Linked DNA regions of Homo sapiens: region 1 is linked to region 2. Evidence: promoter capture Hi-C in 16 types of primary human blood cells and fetal thymus (Javierre and others, 2016). All regions are on one chromosome and are shown on one strand. The core of a region is centred on a gene start or on the middle of the fragment in contact, and the rest is flanking DNA. Distances in the headings are between cores, read along the strand shown. Region 1 holds the start of NPEPL1 (aminopeptidase like 1). Region 2 holds the start of RAE1 (ribonucleic acid export 1).

Region 1 (2,954 bases), core at 84-2,583, 1.3 Mb before region 2:
GGTTTGAGTCTCTGATTTGCCACCAAAACTGATCTGGGGCAAATCCCCGCGTCTCTCTGGACCTGTTTCCCTGTCTACAGAGCAGGGATGATAACGTCCACAGCCCTCTGGGCGTGCGCTGCAGTCTGAGCAGGGCTGTGAGCTCCCCAGGCCCGAGCTCACCGCTGCCCGACTAGGAGCACCGTGGCTGCCTCCTCTCGAAGCACTCACCACAATGCAGCGATGCGCTCCGGGCGGCAGGCAGGTCCGCACCAGCCGCGTGATGAAGTGGGCGGCCGAGGGGCTGTTGTGCCGGCTCACCCTGCAGGGCAGGGCAGCCACGGTGGCGTAGTTCAGGTAGAGGGGACAGCTGTCCGTGGGGTTGGGGTTGAGCGTGCTCAGGGCAGCCTGCCAGAGCTAGATCAGAAGGGAGAGACAAGACACAGAGGCTTCAAACAGCGGCCACGTGCCAGGAGGCCCTGCCCTGCAGCCACGGCCACAACCACTCCTGCAGTCCTGGAAGGGCACTGCGCAGCTCCCGGCCACCGTTTTCCCATCCTTAGGGAGATGTGTCGCCTCTCTGCAGAGCTAACTGTCTCTAGGCTGGCTCGCATCCCCCTGGTGGGATGAAGCCACCAAGCCTGGAAGGGCCAGGCTGGGGGCTGCTTTGCTTCCAACACTCGGATAGGGCTTAGGCGGCTTCCACCAGAGAGGGGGCAGGGGCCAGGTGTCCCCAAGGAAAGGCAGCTGGGGACACTGCCATGGGAACTTCTGGAAGCCAGGGCCTGTCGCCAGGCGGGGCCGACGCGCGGCCCTGGGAGCGGCCACGTCTCCCCCCCCGCCGTCCGCAGGTGTCGCGGCCTCGCGGGGCGCAGGGCTGGGCTGACAGGAGGACCACCGCGCCGCACCGGCGACGGGGCCTGGGGCTGGGCCTCCGCGGGCGAGGACTGGCCTGGCGGCTGAGCCCTTCAGGGAGGCGGCCCGGCCTCGTTGGGCCCGGCCCGGCGGCGGCGGGGGTGCGGCGGGCGAGGCGGGGCCTCCGCGGGCCGCCCGGGCCTGGGCTTCCGCGGCGCGGGTCGCATGGCGGCCGGCGGCCCGCTCACCTCCTCGGTGACCCGGGGCTGCAGCTTCCCGCGGACGTGGCTCCAGGGCACGCGGTGCAGGTGGTGCAGCTGCCCGAGCAGCAGCAGGGGCCGGCTCTGTGGGTCCGAGTCCCCCGCGCTCGCCTGGAACTGCAGCCCCACGTTCGCCATCTTCCTGCCGGCCCACGCCCCGGCCCTGCCCGGCCCGGCCCGGCCCGCCGCTCGGCCCCCTTCGCCCCGCTCCGGCCCGGCCTCGGCACCGCCCCGGCCCTGCCCGGCAGCCCGCGGGCCCCGCCTCCCCCGCCGCTCCGGGCTGCTCGCGAGACGTGCAGGGCCCGCCCGGGGCGCGAGGGGGCGCCGGCCAGGCCGGGCGGAAGGGTGCGGGCAGGCCCGGCCGGGCAGGCCCGAAGCCGGCCCCGAGCAGGCCCTGCCGAGTAGGGCCCGCGCGCCCGGCCTCCAGCGGCGCCGCCCCTGGGCCTAGCGGCCCTGCCCAACACGCGGGGCGACGTGGCCCGCCAGGCAGCGCCTCCCGGACGGGCCTGGCCTCCAGTGGGGCCTGGGCCGACGTAGGCCCAAGCCCACCCGACGCAGTTCCGCCCGGTCAGGCCTCAGGCTGGCCCCAAGCAGGTCCCCCGAGGTCCCTTAGCAGCTGCTTTTGATCCCCAGGGACCCCGCACCCTGGCCACCCATCAGTTAGGCCGGAGGGGCCCAGTGACTCTTGGACCTGAGTCAGGTCCTTTTGTCCCACTGCCTGGCATGGTGGGTACAGCGTGGACGGTCACTTCCTCCTCACTTAATCGGAGGTTCCCTGGCGTTTATCAGACCCCGCTCTGCCAGGCACTGCCCTGGATGTGAGAGGGTGACAGGGACGTGGCTTTCCATCCAGGGCACTGCTGCTGGGATGGCCAGTTACAAATCCAGGCACTGCCTGGCTGCATGGGGGGCCTTCCCGCCCACCCCTTTGCAAGAAGGGTCATCTGGCACAGTCTAAGCAGGAAAGGAGGGACGAGATGAGACGAGGAAGGAGCAGGGTGACCTGAGTCACCTCAGTCGCCTTACAGGGGAGGAAAGGCCATCGGGGGTGTGGGGCAGGAGCCGGGTGGTGGAGGAGCCAGGGGTGAGCCTTGAGTGGATGGTGGAGGCGGAGGGTCCCACCCACAGGGTCAGATGCAAGGGTCAGGGAATGACGATGCATTGGGGAAGCTCCACCCAGGAGTCATTTAAAAGCAAAAATCTGTTACCCAACATCCTGATTGCTCAAGGGCCTTTGGTTGGTACCCTCCTCTGTTACCTCCATGTAGTTCCATAAGCCACTCCTGTTATTTTGAGTTTCTTCTTCATAACCAGCCTAAAAATGAAAAAAAAAAAAAAAAAAAAAGAAAAGAAAAAAAGAAAAAAAAGCACTGTCAACTCCCTGGCGTGGTGTGAGAGGTTTTCCACCACTGACCTCCCAGCTGGCCCCCTAGCTCCCTAACTTGTAGCCCCGGGAGCCACAAGCCAGGCTTTCACCTTCCCTGTCCACAGGCTCCAGGTCTGTCTGCTCAGCTCTGAGCCATGGTCCCTGGCCCCTTGGAAACACCACAGACTAGAGCTTCAGCATCCTGAAGGCAGGTCTTTTTGACTTTTTGTTGTTTTTTTTTCCTCCAGTTCCTGGCACAGAGCAGGCACTCAAAAAAAAAAAAAAAAAAAAAAAAAAAAAAAAAAAAAGCTGTTGAATGACTGAAAGGCATTCCTTTGAAACCCTCAGCTTTCCCGACATAAAAGTCAACGCTAATTGGATCTTATTTTCTTCAAAAGATTTTACAGCAGCTGAATGTTTTCACACATTGGTAAAGGGTACTAACAGTGTGTATGAAGATCTCTCACTCTTTTTTCTGTTTGCAAATACGTTGC
Region 2 (2,968 bases), core at 133-2,632:
GGGAGAGAACATTTCTGCCATTAGGGATGAACTTAGGAAAAAGAACATGGTAGGTGAGAATCGTTCGTGTTAGTCAGTGTGGACCACACCTTATGCTGAGCACTGGGAAGCTTCCAAAGTTCAGAAGGCACAGTCATCTGTGGGACCCACCTAATCTCTTCCCGCTCTCTCCCGCCTTGCTGCACCCCAGCCCTCCTAGCTCTGCTGGCTTCCTTTCTCCGCTGAACACAACAAGCTCATCCCTGCCTTGGAGCAAACCTAGTGCTGTTCCTTCAGCTTGGGATGATTTGCTTCTCCCTCCCCACAGCTACCTCCGTTTGAATCTTCATATCCCAGTTCAAAAGTTGCCTCCTCCGAACTTCTTGGGGTGATGAAAATGTCCCAAATTTGAACTTGCCATGTTTACGCAACTGCATAAAATTTCCAAACTCACAATATACACTTTCAATGGTTGAAATTAATGTTATTTTATACTTCAATAAAGCTGTCACACGTATTCTTTTTTAAAGTCACCTCCTCAGACGCTTCTTTGCCAACTTTAACATATCTAATCTTCCATCACATCCCCTGGAATTTCTTGTTTACACTCAAAATCTCTTCCCCCCCAGAATGCTGGCTCCAAGAGGGCAGCCACTTGCCTGGATTCTTCCCTTAATGCATACTGGGTCCCACAGTACAATGCCTGGCCCAGGGCGGCTGGTGTTTAATACTACTTGCCTGGAGAAGTACTGCCTGTACGGTGGCACCTATATACGTATACAATAAATACTTGGCGGGCTAAGACAGAAACAGACTTAGTTTCAGAGACTGGTAACTGCTACGAAAGAAATGGAGCAGGTTGACGTGGAAGAGGCTAAAAGGGGACGCCCTTCTGCAAAGCGGCCAGGGAAAGCTTCTCCCAGGAGCTGACATGTATCTGACGAGACGCCAGACGTGTAAGGGGGAGGGACAGAGGCGACACACACTGCATTAACGCAATGTGACCCTTCCCAGAGGCTCAGTTCCCCCACAAGAGAAACGATGGATTAGGCCCTAGGTGACCCCTAAGGCCATTTCCAGCTCTGACCTCGCTTCCAGGGCCCAGTAACGAAGCTTAGTCAACAGTCCCGCTCGCGCCCCAGCATCCCGCAGAAGCGCGCTCCCGGGAGGCAACTCGGCCTCTGCGGGAGCCATGGCGGCGGTTAACGACGGGACGCGCGCGGCACGGGGCCTACCTGGGGGTCTCGCCCCGGCGGAAAGCGGCGGCCGGGAGCAGAAGGGTCTGAGGAGTTTGCGAACCTGCTCTGGCGCGAAGGACGAGGGCCAGGAGCGCGGACAGAAATCCCAGGAGCCCGAAGCCTCCTTAAGCCTGCGGTAGAAACTGCCCTGACTACCGCGGAAACAACGCGCGTGCGCCCTGGAGCCACTTCCTGCGTCGCCCGGAAATCGTCGAAGAAAAAGGCTCCTTTTCCCGCAAGGCGACAGCACATGCGCAAAAACGCTTTACACCAGCAGTTTGCGAATTGGTCCAAAGTTGATGTAGCCGCTGCAAGTTACTAAGCGACTGCTTTTATAAATCCGCAACTGGCCAGGCGCGGTGGCTCACGCCTGTAATCCCAGCACTTTGGGAGGCCGAGGCGGGCTGATCACCTGGGGTCAGGAGTTCAAGACAAGTCTGGCCAACATCGTGAACCGCCCCGCCCCCCGCCCCCCCCGCCCCCCCGCGCCGCCCCCCCCCGCCCCCCGCCCCCGTCCCCCCGCCCCCCCCGCCCCCCCCGCCCCCCGTCCCCCCGCCCCCCCGCCCCCCCGTCCCCCCGTCAGTACTAAAAATACAAAAATTAGCCGGGCATGGTGGCGGGTGCCTGTAATCCCAGCTGCTTGGGAGGCTAAGGCAGGAGAATCGCTTGAACCCAGGAGGTGGAGGTTGCAGTGAGCCGAGACCATGCCATTGCACTCCAGTCTGGACAACAAGAGCGAAACTCCATCTCAAATCAGTCAATCAATCCGCAACTAGGGCTAGTGCAAGGTAGCTAGCTGTTTTCTCTTGTGAATTAATTATTGCATTTATCATGTATAAACATCTAAAAGATTCTGATTGCTTCCAATTCACGTCCAAGGCCAACCTCCGAGAAGCTGCTCTAACGCTGCCTCCGAACAAGGCGAGGTCGGCCGCGGGTTTCCCGCCCTGGCCTCTCCCTGTTTGCCCACTGGGGTACCCTGAGCCCACCTCGGGGCTCTTTGGGCCTCAGTTTCCTGCTGCATGGTGGGGAAAATGATGCCAGGGCTGTTCCTAATTAGGGTCAAGTGAAATCATACGTGAACTACTCTTACTAATAGAACTGTCTGTAGAAATGTTAAGGGATTCTTATTACTCACACACGCCCACTCCAAATATTTCAGTTGGTTGTTTCCTCCCAACCCCTACTTTTAGGAGCATCTGAAGAAGGAAGTGAAGGAAAAGACAGATCACAAGGAAGGGATTTCGTGAGGTTATGTAGCTACCCTGGATTCTCTCCTTCACTACTCAGTGTGGTCTGCGTGCCTTGACCTTCTTAAGGAGGTTTAGGATCTGGGGTATCTTTTTATAAAATGCAGATTCAGTAGGTCTACGATGGGCCTAAAAATCCACATTTCTACCAAATTCCCAGCAGAGGTTGCTGGGCCGTGAACCAGAGTTAAGTACCAAGGCTGTAGATCATTTGGAATCCTGGGCAGCTTTTTAAAAACTGTGATGTTTACACTGCACCCTTAGAGATTCTGATTTAGTACGCCTGGGCTAGAAAAGAGGAAATTAATATTTTTTAAAAGCTCCCCAGGTGATTCTAAGATGCAGCCAAGACTGAGAACCTCTAGTCTAGACGATGATGGTAATAATAGCTCTTTTGAGCATCACCCTATGCTAAGCGCTTTAGATGCTCCATCTCCTGTAGTTTCCAGACCAGCCCTAAAAGATAGGTATTGTGATTATCTCCATTTTATAGATATGGAA

Evidence for each region. Contacts are between HindIII fragments. The CHiCAGO score rates a contact against its expected background, and 5 or more counts as called.
Region 1: the fragment with the promoter of NPEPL1 here is called in contact with the fragment with the promoter of RAE1 in region 2 in 1 of 17 cell types (total CD8 T cells); the score reaches 5.2 in total CD8 T cells.

What each region holds. Positions count from the first base shown.
Region 1 is chr20:58,691,179-58,694,132 of GRCh38, reverse strand. NPEPL1 (aminopeptidase like 1) reads right to left here and starts at 1,333. Exons shown (of 12, transcript NM_024663.4): 1 at 1,083-1,333; 2 at 211-396. The coding sequence starts at 1,232. It overlaps STX16-NPEPL1 (STX16-NPEPL1 readthrough (NMD candidate)), which reads right to left. Exons shown (of 23, transcript NR_037945.1): 9 at 2,906-2,954; 10 at 2,571-2,728; 11 at 2,353-2,409; 12 at 211-396. RefSeq lists silencers at 818-907, 928-1,007, 1,038-1,197, 1,208-1,697 and an enhancer at 1,195-1,900. The HindIII fragment of the contact is 11,943 bases long and covers 1-2,954 here.
Region 2 is chr20:57,349,669-57,352,636 of GRCh38, reverse strand. It overlaps RAE1 (ribonucleic acid export 1), which reads right to left and starts at 1,382. Exons shown (of 12, transcript NM_003610.4): 1 at 1,215-1,382. RefSeq lists enhancers at 913-992, 1,183-1,751. The HindIII fragment of the contact is 3,413 bases long and covers 1,095-2,968 here.